3 separate regions of the Homo sapiens genome follow, and regions 1 and 3 are each linked to region 2. The links are contacts of gene promoters, found by promoter capture Hi-C in blood cells and fetal thymus (Javierre and others, 2016). All regions are on one chromosome and are shown on one strand. Each heading gives the region's core, a stretch centred on a gene start or on the middle of the fragment in contact. The rest is flanking DNA. Distances are from core to core; before and after follow the strand shown.

Region 1 (4,554 bases), core at 1,983-4,482, 900 kb after region 2:
CCAAAACAAATACCCAGAAAATTAAATAAATTGACCTCTAAAAAGCATATTATCATTCTCCATGCTAAAGATTATCTTATTCAAACTAACTTTGGCTTGAATATAAAGATTCCTGCAGAAAGAAACTAGTTAGATTTTAGATTTACCTCCCGGAATGTGAAAGCAGGACCTTATCAATAACATAGAAGATAATATTTACCTTCTTATTTGCTATGGTAGGGGAATATTCATCTATACATCAGTGAAAAGTTGCATCAAATTATGCAAACATAAGTTCAAAGGCAGTTGGCTATAACAGAGCAGTGTTTTAAGCCATGTTGAATTAAAATCTACTCTGTCAAGACCTCATGGTTACCCAAGCTCGTTCAAGTGGTGTTAAAATGAACACTCTAATGAGCATTAGAAATCTTATATCTCTATCATGTGTTTTCCCTGTTTTCTAGAGAACATTTCAGACAATTACTCCATAAATGGCTTCTGTGAGCAAACAAATTCAGTATGTGAGAGGATAAAGAAAGGTGACTAGGTTTCTTTCCTAAGAATTTCTTAGAAACTTAAAACAGGCTAAGATGCATTGCCAACCTTCTCCAACAAAATGAAACAGTATAACCTAAATGGGAGTAATCTGGCTATCAAGTTGCCATCCTCTATCAGTGGAAGTAAAGGATTGTAGGATCATGTATACCACAAATATACAATAATTCGAGACCCAAAGAACTATGCCCAGGGACTTCCTCTGATATTTATAATAGTCAATTTTTAAAAAGTTATTTGTGAAATGTCTTAAATGTAGATTTCCCTGAGTTCAGCTTACAATTCTTGCTTCTTCACTTATCCAAATTTCCTGGTAATAATGTGTCAAACTGAGAAGGCAGTTTCTCGGAGTCTATGGTGGCTTGCCTCCAAAGATGTTCTAGAATCACAGAAGGCTATTCCATTTCTGTATCTTTTGCTCTGATCATTTCTATGTGCCTTCAGATTCTATTTGAAAAAAGAACTGATTGCTCAACAAAAAAGTGACATATTTGGTTAAAAGGACAAGGTTAATCATTAAATAATCAATAACAATGCTGGGCTCTCGAAACACAAGGAGAAAACTCTATTAAATGTGTTGCCATTTAATGGCATTAAAAAGATGAAAAGTTGTTGTTTTCCTTTTGATGATCATCCCTAAATAAATTAGATGATCCACAGAAAAGTAGCAATGATGTAACCTGAATTTCTTAATGCATTCAGGCTTCCAGTGAGTACTTCCCAATGAATAAGACGGTAAGATAATGCAGGTACAAGGATGTAACGAATTGGAAAAGTTAACTGGTATAAAAATGGCTAGACTGAGTAAACTTCTAAGCTTCTTATCCTCTCAAGCTGGTGTGTTTGCTTTGCCAGAAATATAGCCTACATGTAAGTGGAATCTATTCAATTTTAGGGTGTATAATGTAGTTCTGAGATATTCTGCACATAGTTCCAAAGATATAGACTGCTCTTTTCTGAAGGCCCATTTTAGCACCATCAGGGCGTCTGTCTCCTGAGGTCTAGGGTTTAGGTCAGGCTTCAGTAACTATTAGGAGGCATGACTGTAAAAAGAAATGCACCTTGTTATGGATTCAAAATTCCCTGTCCTGGATAACTCCGGATTATTCCAGCTCTAGTCAACTTCTTTGTTTCATAATAAGGAAAGAGAATTTAACTTTAAAGAATGTGCCTCTTGACAGAGGTTCAGCCTAGGAGCCTTTTTTATGGCCAACATAAAAAAAAATGATTCAATACAGACCATCTATTACACCTCTATTGCAACAATTTAAAAGAAAACTCAAACACTACCTGCCATTTCTTAGGCTCAAAACTATGCTGAACAACTCTATCTGGGTAACTCTCCTACCATATCCATCCTTCTCTAAGACAGGCTATTGACAAAGGGTTGAGCAAGTATTAGATGACTGTGCATGGTGTGTATCAGAAATTACAGAGGAGGTTACTTTGGAAACATTGTTCCAGTATTGTTGAAAACCTTCTCTGGGGGTAATTTTAGGATTCACCTAGGAAAGTAACATGGCCTGCATTTCTTCTGGGTAAGTAAAGGTCTGTCAGTCTTCCTTCTATGAGTAAATTTAGAATTAAGGGCTTCAACTGGGGCTTTGTAAGTACTGCTTTCAGGTTGGTAAAGGGTGGGCTTTTGCACCACTCACTGAAAAACAGAAGATACCCAGCCATCTCTTTTTTGCAGCAATGGATAGTTTTTGTTTTATTACCTCTTCAAATGTATTGGATTTTAGTTAACGTTTATTTGTATTTGCCTAATCCTTTCATCTTATACTTTCATTCTCCTTCATGGAGAAAACAGCAGTGAAATAGAAATGAGTTAGTTCTGTTTTCTTAGTTTCCATTACACAGTTTCCACTAGCAATTCATTTTTATTAATATTTTTGGTAACATATTAATTCCTAATTTTCTTGCTTCCAGAGATGCTCCTCATACCTACTCTCATTTGACTCTGGTGCTGTTTGGAAACTCTTCACATTTTTTCCCCCAAAACTCTCTTCTTCCTGACATATGCTTTCACTGACATTGCCTGTTTTTTTCTGTATTCCTTCTTGACTGTATCCTCCTCTATCATCTTTGTTTCCATGATCCATGGTCCACAGGTACAATTGTGTCAGATTCTTCACCTGCTTCATTCTTTTCACTTTTTAGAATTGTCCACTCCTCTCAAGTCATATTCTCATTTAGAGTGTATGATTTTGAGAAAGTATAACTAACTTTTATCTAATTTTTTAAGCTACTTTACTAAATTCTAGGAAATATGACTGAGAATGGCCAAATTTTCCTTCCTTTGCTTTCACCTCCCAGATTCTGGAAATAGTACTGTCTCCTGATGGAACTGTCATGTTAAGATAACAGTTCTTTGTTAATCAGAATTAAGTCTAGGGAGACTATTCCCCTCATTGCTCCTTTCAACTCACAGATGAGCACATATCAATACTTTTTCTGATTTTCAGTTTTGAATAGAATGAAATTTCTGACAGGAATCTAAATGCCATCCATCCAAATCTTGCTTAGGTAGCAGTTTTATCATCATTATCAATATAGTTTAACCTCTTAAGGTCAGAATACTTGGAAATTGTCCTAATTTGGACCAGGATGTTTTCAAGTAAATATTTACAAAATCTACAAAATGTTCCGAAGTATGTAGTGTAGTATTAAGTTTAAAACAAACAACCATGTCACTAGAATTTATTTCACCATTTTCCCAACACAACAAGAAATAAATCCCTAAATAAGTAAAACTACACTTGAAGAACCTTCTGGACACTCAGTGCTTATTCAGACTTAGTTTTTAGAGGACTGCTGTGAGATCTATTTTTACAAAATTTCTGTAATTTTTAAATGAGCCATAAATAACTAGACTTGGATTTTAAGAAAACATTAGTAGTACTGTTCATCTGGCTAGACAGATACCCTTGTAACGATTTTTTTCTTTTCCTCAAAATCTTTCAGAAATTTTCCTTTGCTAGAATTGTTTTTCTGCTTGCTAGATGTCCATATAAATATATTTGTGTTATCTGCTAAGAGTAGAACCTTTTATTCAGTCTATCCATTACAATCAAGCAAAAAAACTAATTTAAATACTTCACCATTAGAAAAAAATAACTTTAGGGCTGTATTAATCAAATAAATGAATAAATATTTTTATATATTATTTTTCCCTAATCAACTTTAGCCTCCTAACAGCAAGACTTAAGTGTGAATTTGGATCACCTCTCCCCATGCCACGCCACCCCTGTGTTTATTAGCACAGGGCTTTGATGATAACAGAATCTCACATAAATGAGTTTACATGAGGGAACTGACATTCCTAAATAAGACTGATAGAATAAGAAATGCAGTAATCATAGATAGACCTGCTTATTTCTTGAAATTCTTACCAAGTTTTCAAAAAGCTAATATTTATAATTATTTTTAATAGTAATGATAGAAGAAAAGAAAAAAAACAAATGTTTAACTATTATTATCTAAGCTAATAAATATACATCAGTATGATGTATCATAAGAAAATTATGACACTATGTGGAAACATATGTAAAATAAATGAAAAATATGGAACTCAAAATACTATTCATTTTAATCATTGTGACACAAAATAAGTAAACATATGTGTTTTTATGCTGACACATTCCAAAGACCCATGCAGAAAATCTAACAATAATTTAATCTTAAAATAGCAAATTATTTTCTATAATTATATTTAAATGAACCACTCCCTAGGAGAAAGGATTATATGGGTATTCTTTATCCTCATCATACATTTGTGTACTGAGCTTTTGTTGCTGTAATTGTTTTCAGTGAGCCTGTATTAATTTTATAACCAGAAAAATAAGATAATAAAACAAGCATTTCCATATATTTACTAATAATTTTAAAATAAACTATTCAAAGGAATGAACTATATTATAAAATAAGCTATGCAAAGGAATAAACTATATTCCTTTATCATATTCACTTAACGACAAACTGCGTAATTTGGCAAAAATTAACATTAGTAGAAACTTGGGC
Region 2 (4,679 bases), core at 2,084-4,583:
CTCAGTTCCAGTATTGTTAAAGGTGAATTTCAAATTACTAGTCTATTTCAAAATACTATTGAATTCCAATTAGCTCACCTTTTGTAGAAAGATCAGCTATTTGTTCAAGTGTGTACTGACTTGAAAAGGGCCTCAAGAGACATTTTAAAGATCAAACATAATAGTTAATTAATTTTAAGCAGCCCTGTGTTTAAATTATAGTTGAAAACTGAACTTCTAGGCAAAGGGGTACTTTGACCATTAATTTAGTAAGGGAAGAGTTGGTGCATGGATAAAGTATTAAGGAAGAACATGAAAGTAATTGTGTAAAATAGAATCTATATTTGGTATACCCAAACTGAAGTATCTACCCTTGAACAATTGTTTCTGCATACTTTCATAATTTTGCTCTTATTCTCTTTAAATCTTTGAGAAGACATCTGACTAATCTAAAATTCAATTTACTGATCTGATATGAGAAATGAATGGCATCACGATAGTAATTTAGTTTTCAATTTGAGAGCCTAAGTGTCACATTTCAACTACTTAATGTGTTTAACCTTTTTTTTTTTTTTTTTGAGAAAAAGAAAAAGACTGGCACTTGGATCTTTGTTCTGTCAAATTCTAGGTATATACGTTTATTTTTTCAGTTCTTTGCAGTGAAAAATAATGACTTTTTAGGCACTTGAAACCAGGTAGAATAAATACAACTGTGAAGATTATTTTATTTTATAGCCAGCAATTGGAGAAACGAATTTTAATGTAAAAAGCAAATAGATCCTAGAGTGTAAAAGTTTTTTTTTTTTCCTCCAAAGTGAGGTCTATGTGTTGCTATGTCTGGGTGCATTGGGGAATTGCCTTCTGATTTCATTCTTGAAGTATACAAAAAATTATTTCAGTGTAGGTAAGTACTAGGAAAAAGCTAAAATGAGAAGATACTCTCTGAGTTTTAGTCTAGGTTGGAGATTCTGAGGCTTAAGCATTTCCAAAAATGAAATAATTCTTGCAAACTCTCTGCATACTCTGTGATTTTATTTTCCTAGGGGGAAAGAGACTAGCTGAGGTGGCTTCCTGGGCAAGGCAAGGGCGAGGGCGAGGAAAGCTGGCGTGTCCCAGGGCGTCCAAGAGGGAGGAGAGTGGATGTGTTGTTTCCATGGACACACCACTGCTCCACTTTTCCTCTAGGTGGTGACAAATGTGACTGGATTTAGCCTGGTGAGGTGTAGGCTGGTTTATGAGAAATTTGTTCCCATAAACTTTTTCCAGTTTTTTCCCTACAACCTTTATACAAGTATATTACTTCCAAGCTAGAATTACTTTGTGATCTTACTTGGGAGATTTGTTTAATCCTTTCTAATGGGATATATTTAGGCTGATGGAATAATCCAAAAATTTTTTTAATCATCAAAAAAGCATACATCTGCATATTCAGGAAGCTACTTACTCTCTTGATGGCTTTTAAGACATTATGAGGATTTTCTGTCTCTATTTGCGTTTGGAACCTTCAGTGACTAAGATTCCTAGCCTTAGAAATAACTGTATACAGCCATATCTTTGGAACATGTGTGGCTTTGGTAAGAGTTATAAGGTACACTGGAGGGAAAAAGGGCTTGAGCGAGGGTGTCCCCCAACTGAAAGAGGCAAATTCAGAACAAGGGTCTACTTGTCTATTTCAATTAGCTAATTAGGAGATATAAGCATTAGAAATAGTGGAGCCTGTGACCACACAACTCACGCAGTCTAATAAAGTAACCTTTAGACAACAGCTGTAATGTAAAAGGCCCATGCCAAAAACAACAGAGCAGAGCCGAGTTCCTGTCCCTTAAAGCAGGACAGCTGAGATGGTGGCTGAGTTTAATGACAAAAAAGGACAAAACAAAACAAACAATAATCCCGACCAAGGTTTTCTGAAGAGAGGAAAATGTAATAATTAGAAGCTAGACATTTAACAAAGCATTGTTTTATGGAAAAGTGCCAACCTTATCAATAGACTTCTGGTGTCTTACTATTGGCTAAGAAGACATTTCAATTTACTGAATGTTTCCTGGGTGAAACTAAGATATTGTATCAATTAGTAAAAAATCTAAATTAGGATTAGCATAATTAGTTATGCAATGAAAATTTTAAGAACAACAACAAAAAATCCCTGATCTAGCATCAGTTTTTAAAAAGTACTCATTTTTTTCCTATACCTAATGTCAGTGGCAGAAAATGCTGAGAAATTGGGATATTGCTTTCCAAAGATCTTTTTCTTCTTAAAACAATTACATCAAAAGTTATAGCTAGGGATAAATGATTGTGACACAGATTTCCAAGTTACTGCCAAATACAGGGTTTTATAAAATTAAAAAGAAAGCTGGATCATTTAAGAAAAGTAATTTATTTCTGGCTTTGACTTTTTCCCGGAACAAACATAAAAAATGTACGATTTTCCTTCTCGGTATTAACAAAATATTTTCCAAATCCACTGCATGCACTGCATTCCTTTATCAGGATCTTATTCAGTTTGTGACTCTGCTGGAAACTGATATCTTAGAATTAATCTGATACGTGCTTTTACCTAGTTTTCTCTTGTTTAATGCTTAAATTACGTATATTAACATTCATTTTAATTATTTTAGGCTTTCTGGAACATGCTACCACACTACAAATATAAAGTTTCAGGTCATTTTTAAAATTTCTTTTTCTCTCTTTAAAAAAAATTCTAACTTTTTGAGGCATTCATAGCTTAAAAAAGTTTCCAAGTTGGGGATCTGTTTTTTTATCTAATGCCAGTCAAATGGACATTTAAGGAAAAACTGCATTTCTAAGGTACACCACAGAGTGTGAAAGATAGTTAATCAGACTGCCTTAACAGCTTTTGATTGTTGTTTAAAATGCAGGCACAGCCTTTTTGAAAATCAAGAACGTTTGCCCTGCACTCAGGTTCTGAAGCCCCAGAGTTACAGAGGGTCATGAGGGTTAAGAGAGAAACAGAGACTCGTCCATGAAGGCTGACAGTTCTGTTTTTCCACTTGCGAGGGCTCAGCGACAGGGGCAGCCGGCCACGGTCTGCCTTCCTCTAAGTAACAACGTTAATGAGTTATAACTGTATGCAGACTTACTGTGATGGCCTGGAGTCTTCCCTTCACCAGCTCAGCTTCTTCCATTCTAGAAGTCAAGGACAGTCAGACGGGGAAGCAAGTCCAAAGCTACCATAAATCAAGGAGCCTCCTGGGGGAGAGGAGCGGGGGTGACAGAAGAGAAGCAGGGAGAAATCCGCTCTTTGCACCAGTGGAGAAATAGAGAAATTCCCGACTTGTCAGGAGCGTCTCCGAGCAGATGCACAGATCAGGCCAGACAGACACATGTAATGAGGGTGTGCTGGGGAGGCAGACGCTGAGGCTGCTGGCATGAGTTGACTGACAAGTTTGAACGGCAGCGGCACAAGCCCTTTTCCTTCAGGAGCTGCCAGCTCTTTGTTGTAATGTGCACAGTTAGCAAGGCACATTTTCTTATTAACTGTTCCTTACCCAATTCATTATTTTCCAGGAGTGGCACAGAGAGCCAACACACTGAGTGTTTAATCAGCCTCTGCTCTAGCAACACACAGCCATCCCCGGATGTGTTGGTCTGTGTGTGTTTGTACAAAGCTCGTTTACCTGCTTGCTAGCTCTAGGGGAGAGAGCCTTACCTTGACTGAGGCAGAAGTGCCAAGTCACTTGTTTGCCTTTCTTCCACTGATTGGATTTGATAATAATACAACAATCTATAGCTACTTTAAACTTCATGTAGTGGTAAATTTACATTGGTTCGTTCTCCCCCGTCTACACCCCACCCCCGACCCCCCTGCTCAGCACTTTGTTGCAAACTTTGGAATCTTTAGGTCATGGAGAAATCAAAGGTGTTAATGTGACTATATTAAGAAGTTGGCCCACCAAGGTATTTAGTGTGGCTTAAGCACCAAGTGCCACCTTTTGTTATTGCTTGACTTGGATTTCTATGGAATGCAGTTTTCTTTCTTGGACGCTGTTCAGAAATGACACTCTTGGCTTTCAGGAAGGTGCCCATTTTGACCTCACCGGTTACGCAAGAGAGAGGAGTGAGCCTTTGAAAATGTGATGAGACATTTGGTAACTGCCTGGAGCCCGGCACTGTGTGAATATTCGCCCATCCTTTAGAAAAAGGCAGGCAAGCCCAGTGAGACTCTTAGGTCAAAGCAGAGGCTGGGAAGCTGTACAATTGGCTCTGTCTGTTTTCTTTTCCCTACAGGTTCTTTAATTAAATTTTGCTGAAGTAAATCCTAATTACCAACTACCTTATTATTATGTGTTTGAATGCTATTAAGCGCTTTCATATCAACATTCAGCTGAAGAGGTTAAAAGGACAACCCAAACATTGAACATATGGTTTAATTTCCTTTGCAGTTTTGATATTAGTAATAATAATAGCTAATATTTGTTGCATTCTTTCTACAGGTAAATGCATACTTGCAAAGTGCTGAGAGATAAGTGCTATAATCCCTACTTTAAAAATGAGGGAACAGGCTCAGAGAGGTAATTTGCCATATAGCTAGTAAGTAGCAAAGCCAGGATTGGAACACCAGCTGCCTGACTTTATAAGTGGCATTCATCAAGGACTGCCCAAGGACACGGGGCAAGGAGAGGCACAGGCTGAAGGTTAAGTCAGTCTTTATGAGAAGTGGTTGGACCCCCAGCCTC
Region 3 (5,132 bases), core at 797-3,296, 880 kb after region 2:
TTTATTAAAATTAGCAATATTTAAATTTCCCTAACCTTTTCTATTAAACAAGGTGCCTCTAAAGTGAAAGAGTAAAAGATGAGTCATTGTCATTCAATAAGTTTTGGTAAAATCTGTGCTATTTTCCAGAAACTAAAAAGAGAAGAAAAACTCTGTGTGACAGTCACTTAGACAGCAGCTAAGTCTGTAGCTTAGCTCTTCTTCCAGGAGAGACCCTGTCATGAGAAGTGTAGTTAGCAGGCAGCCCCCGACTGCCACATCTTCAGATCCACTGCGATTTCCATGCAAACATCCTACTTTCCCCCAGACTGCTCTCAGCCAGTGACAGCCTGGCAGAGGTACCAGAGCTGGGGGTCACTTCTGCCAGGCCAGGATCCATAACAGAAAAGTTTTGCTCTGGGAATCTCTTTGGCCTAAGACTTTTTGAGAATTGTGCTGTATTCTGAGGCCCTCTGAACCAACTTTCTTCTCCTTTCACCTCTCCCCTCATAGATCCAGACTTGCATGGCAGTCTGAAGCCTTTCTCTGGCCCTGTCTTCTTTATCTCTTATACCCATAGTTTCTATCAATCTTTGACATTTCTAATTTTGTCTTGGAGTCTGCCTCCCAGTCTGAGACACTCTAATACCAGGGCATCAAATCCTTTTCTGATTATTTACTTTCAACAAAATTGAGAGAGAATCTAAGCAAAAGATCCTTTGCTAAACAGTAATTTTAAAAACTGGTAATACATCCAGGAGTAGGTTAAATAGAGTAAAAGTAATCTCATTCCCCTAGTTTGGAATTAGCTTAGAAACTCAGGCCTAGGCCAACTGTGTGACAAAATAGTCACAGGGATTTGTTCAGGATAGGCATAAATTTCAATTTGGAGAAATGAGACACAAGGAGAATGTTGGGTATTCTGGAAAAGAGTTTTCCTATTCTTAAAAAAGTAACCATTGGAAAAGATAACTTCCTGCTTCCTTTCTATACCATGTATATGGATACAAAATTAAAAGCCACCAAGTCACTTTCATACTGTAAGGAAAGGAAGCCAATAAGCAACATGCTCACAGACCAGGGAACTGCAGAGAAACAGGGGTGGAGCAATCAGATCAAGCTGATCTTAAAGCCCACTCTACTCAGTGACTTCCTAGTTAAATGAGGATACATTTTCTCTCCATTTTAACCTGCTAGAGTCAGTTCCCTATCACGGCCAAATGCATCCCACTTATTTGAGAGTGTTAGCCTTCCATGCCTCCACTTACATTGGAACCTGCCTGGAATCCACCTTGCCCCAGCTCCCTCCCATGTGCAGTGGATCCTGTCCTTTATGTCTCAGCTGCTTTCCTGGAATGGGGATGCAGTTGTTTATCTGGACATTGGGCTTTGCCTCTGCCTCAGCCTCCCACTTCTTATATTTTCTCTGTGGAAAGGGACCAATTTGGAAGTGAATACCAGCCTGAATCAAAGTCTACCTGGTCGTTTATTGGATTTTCTGCTTCTTTGTTTACCCAGCTACATTTCTGTCTCTAGCCCCTACAACTACCCTGTCAGTTAACGCTTTTGCGTCTCCGTGGATCGTTAAGATTTCAGAGACTATGGGCATATAAAGACAGACATATAAAATAATTAACTTTTAAGCTTATTCTGCTAATTTTCACTAATACATGCAAGTGTGCAAACATATTTGCATATATATTTTTGCACACATGCACATGTATATGGACATAGAGACATATCTATATATAGAGAAAAATGCCTTTCTATATATTTATGTCTGAATATCACGTTTGAAAGTTCTTATTATGATATATCCAGTGTATCATGGGTGAACTAATCTAAAGAACTAATCCGAATAAAGAGCTAATGCAGGGGTCTCCTAGGCCCCTACTGTCTCATGAGACATTTTCATTTCTGAAACTTGGGGACAATCTGTCTGGGGACAGTTCTAGAACACGAGTCAGTGGGGTGATTGGAGGCCTATGCCAGCAGCTATTTAGCAATTATTATCAAAGTATTTAAATGATTTGTTTTTCCTACTGGCATATGTCTCTGGATAGCATCAAATAGTTAAATAACAAGTATGGCTGTACTAGTACAAACCTCCCTGAATATGAACACTACTTATGACAATTTGAAGCCTGGTATCTTGAATTTCTATTAGTTCTACTGATGTTCTTATTTATGCTTTAGGTTTCCTAATTCTTCCGCTGTTCCTAGCTTCGTATGTTCTCCAATATCCCCACCTTTGTCACTCACTATAAAGGAGGTAATAAAAACCATATTGATTGAGTCCCTTAGAAGTTCACGCTATCCCCAACCAAGTTCTGGTAATCACTCACAATTCCTAAAAAAAAAACAAAAAAATAAACCAACAACAACAAATTCCGGTAAGTTTCAACAACTCATCTTGGAACTTCTTCTTTCTTGCTCACTACAGCCCAGACACCCTGGTTTTCTTTCACTTCCTCCTATGCATTAAGCTTTTTCCCATCTCTGGGCCCTTGCATGCATTGTTTCACTCAGCCACAATCTACTCCCCTTTGCCTGGTTTGTTCTTATTTTCTCGGTCTTAAGTCGTGCTTCACTGTCTACTCAATTTAAAATAGATGCTCCACATTATTACCTCTCTTACATCACAGCACTTCACACAATATGCAATTATGCATTGTTATGGGTTGAATTGTGTCTCCTTTCCAAAAAAACATATGTTGAAGTCCTAACCCTCAATACCTCAGAATGTGACCTTATTTCACTATGGGGTCTTTATAGAGGCAATCAAATTAAAATGATGTCATTAAGGTGGGCCCTAATCCAGTAAGACATGTGTCCTTGTGCCAAAGGGAAATTTGGACACAGGGACACAGAGGGAAGACAATGTGAGGACACACAGGGAGAAGATGTCCGTGCGATTGGAGTGATGCCTTTACAAGCCGAGGAATGCTGAGGATTGCTCGCAAACACCAGAAGCTAGAAGTGGCAAAGAAGGATTCACCCCTAGAACCATCAGGGAGAGCACAGTCCTGCAGACACATTGATTTCCCACTTCTAGCCTTGAGAACTGTGAGACAAGTGTCTATTGTTGTAAGCCACCCAGTTCTTGATACTTTTATAAGGCATCCCTAGGAAATAATATATGCATTAATCGAGATTTATTTATTATTTATTGTATGATGTCTGTCTCATTAGACTTTTAGCTTTATGAGAGTAGGGTATGTTTACTTATCATAATTATTTACAGCAACACAGAGGATGGTGTCTGGCACCTATTAGTAGTGGAGTATTTGTGGAATTAGTGAATTACTGAATAAGTGGATGCATGGATAATATTTTAATGCAAGGTCCTTCAAAAGAATTTAGAATCTCAGATTGTTCAAATAAACCACTTAAAAGCAACACTAATTTAATCTTAAAATCAGTAATCATAATGCTTCAAGTAGGAAAAGAAAATTTCTGATGCCTAATTATCAAACACTTCATTTAACCAGCTCTGATTAGTTATTAAATTGCATGTTGTGGGATGATTCCCCTTAAAATGGGAAAGCATTGTTCTTCTGATCTTACCAAAAGATTACCCTGTCATGTTTTAAGATAAAAAGCACAAACAATCTCTTCAATCTTCACGATTTACATTAAGAGAAATATAAACAGGAATTGCAGAAGTACAAATTGAACGTATGTAATTATAGCCTTAAAGAATTACACAAGCAAAAGTGATGGCAAACACATTTAAATAGCTGTCCCATTTTAAGGGATCTCACTGCACAATAACCTTATGAACAGGCACATAAATACATAATCAAACCTAGGTGAACTGTAACACATGAAGACTGGGAGATAAGTAACAGCAGGCATGCAGTTGGCTTCCTGCTCCATTGATTTTTATTCCCGTCTTTCCACTGATCACTATATACATTCACACACCACACATGTATACAAACACGCCACATAACACATATATATCATGTATATAAATATGAGCTTAAATATGTATCTATATCTATTTCTATTGACACATATGCATGACATTCTGAACATATCTTACTATGACATGCCTTGGTAAATATGACTATTGTTTGCTTTATCTCAGGATTCACCTATGAAGGGATTCGGAGTTTCAAAGATTTAATAGGTAACAAGGGGAAGCTGAGGCAGAACTTAACTTTTTAAATTCAAAGTAAGTAGTCAAAGTCAGCTGTTTCTAATTTATTCTTACACTTTCCAGCAATGTAGATCTGGCAGATTAATTCCCCTTTTCCACAGATGGGAAATTGGGGCCTAGAATAGTTAACTCACAAACTCAGAATTTTAAATGCTAAAATGACTTTTTTTTTTTACAGTATGTTCAGAATTTAATTCTAGTTCTAACAACTCATGTGTTTCAATGGAATCTTAATTCAGTATTTCCACATAAGAATATTTCTTACATATTGAACTCCTTATTCAATCAATTCTAACGTAAAGGTTGATTTTTTAATACAGATGAATGCACTAACAACTCTAATTTCACAGTCTTGTGCTATTTTTTAGCTAACACAATTATGATTGACTTCCTACGTAATTATATGTGCTGGACTAATGGTTTATTCACACTTGTAATCTTGAATAGATATTCTTCGAAGAGCTATTTTTACATGAGTCCTTGCTTGTTGAAGAATTTTAGGCGTAAGAAGTGTTAATTATATAAATATATAGAACTAATATAATTTTAGATAGATAAAAATGTATGTTCATTTAAAATTATCGTGTGGACATGTATTACTCTATCTTCCCCAGTACTTTTCTTTCTTCTGGATAAAGCAGCCCCTTCCTTTAGATGGTGAACACATAAGGTGGTTGAATGAAAACTGCCATCTCCCTTTGGTCATAACTTTTCTGCCTACTGTAATTTGTGTAAAAAAGTAGGAACCGACCTTGGCTATGATAATAATAGCACACTGGCTCCTAGCCACAAAGACTGACCTCAGACCTGGGGGTGGGGATAAGAAGGGGTTTGCCTGTATCCCAAGCCAGTTCTTCTCTCAAGAGTTTTAACTGAATTGAAGGTGGAAGGGAATAGCTCTCTCCCTCCTAGTAGCAAAGCTGGGCACTGGAGAGCCAGGAGCTACTAGCAGACATTAATCTAGCCCAGGATTTCTCAGCCTCAGCAA

Evidence for each region. Contacts are between HindIII fragments. The CHiCAGO score rates a contact against its expected background, and 5 or more counts as called.
Region 1: a fragment that was not itself captured here is called in contact with the fragment with the promoter of PALMD in region 2 in 1 of 17 cell types (neutrophils); the score reaches 6.2 in neutrophils.
Region 3: a fragment that was not itself captured here is called in contact with the fragment with the promoter of PALMD in region 2 in 3 of 17 cell types (naive CD8 T cells, M2 macrophages and neutrophils); the score reaches 5.8 in naive CD8 T cells.

What each region holds. Positions count from the first base shown.
Region 1 is chr1:98,742,439-98,746,992 of GRCh38, reverse strand. All of the region lies in intron 8 of SNX7 (sorting nexin 7), which reads right to left. Among named protein-coding and RNA genes, the nearest start is that of SNX7, 83 kb to the right of the region's middle. The HindIII fragment of the contact is 3,758 bases long and covers 1,354-4,554 here.
Region 2 is chr1:99,644,767-99,649,445 of GRCh38, reverse strand. It overlaps PALMD (palmdelphin), which reads right to left and starts at 3,333. Exons shown (of 8, transcript NM_017734.5): 1 at 3,084-3,333. The coding sequence starts at 3,128. The HindIII fragment of the contact is 18,161 bases long and covers 1-4,679 here.
Region 3 is chr1:98,763,789-98,768,920 of GRCh38, reverse strand. No RefSeq gene overlaps it. Among named protein-coding and RNA genes, the nearest start is that of SNX7, 100 kb to the right of the region's middle. The HindIII fragment of the contact is 842 bases long and covers 1,626-2,467 here.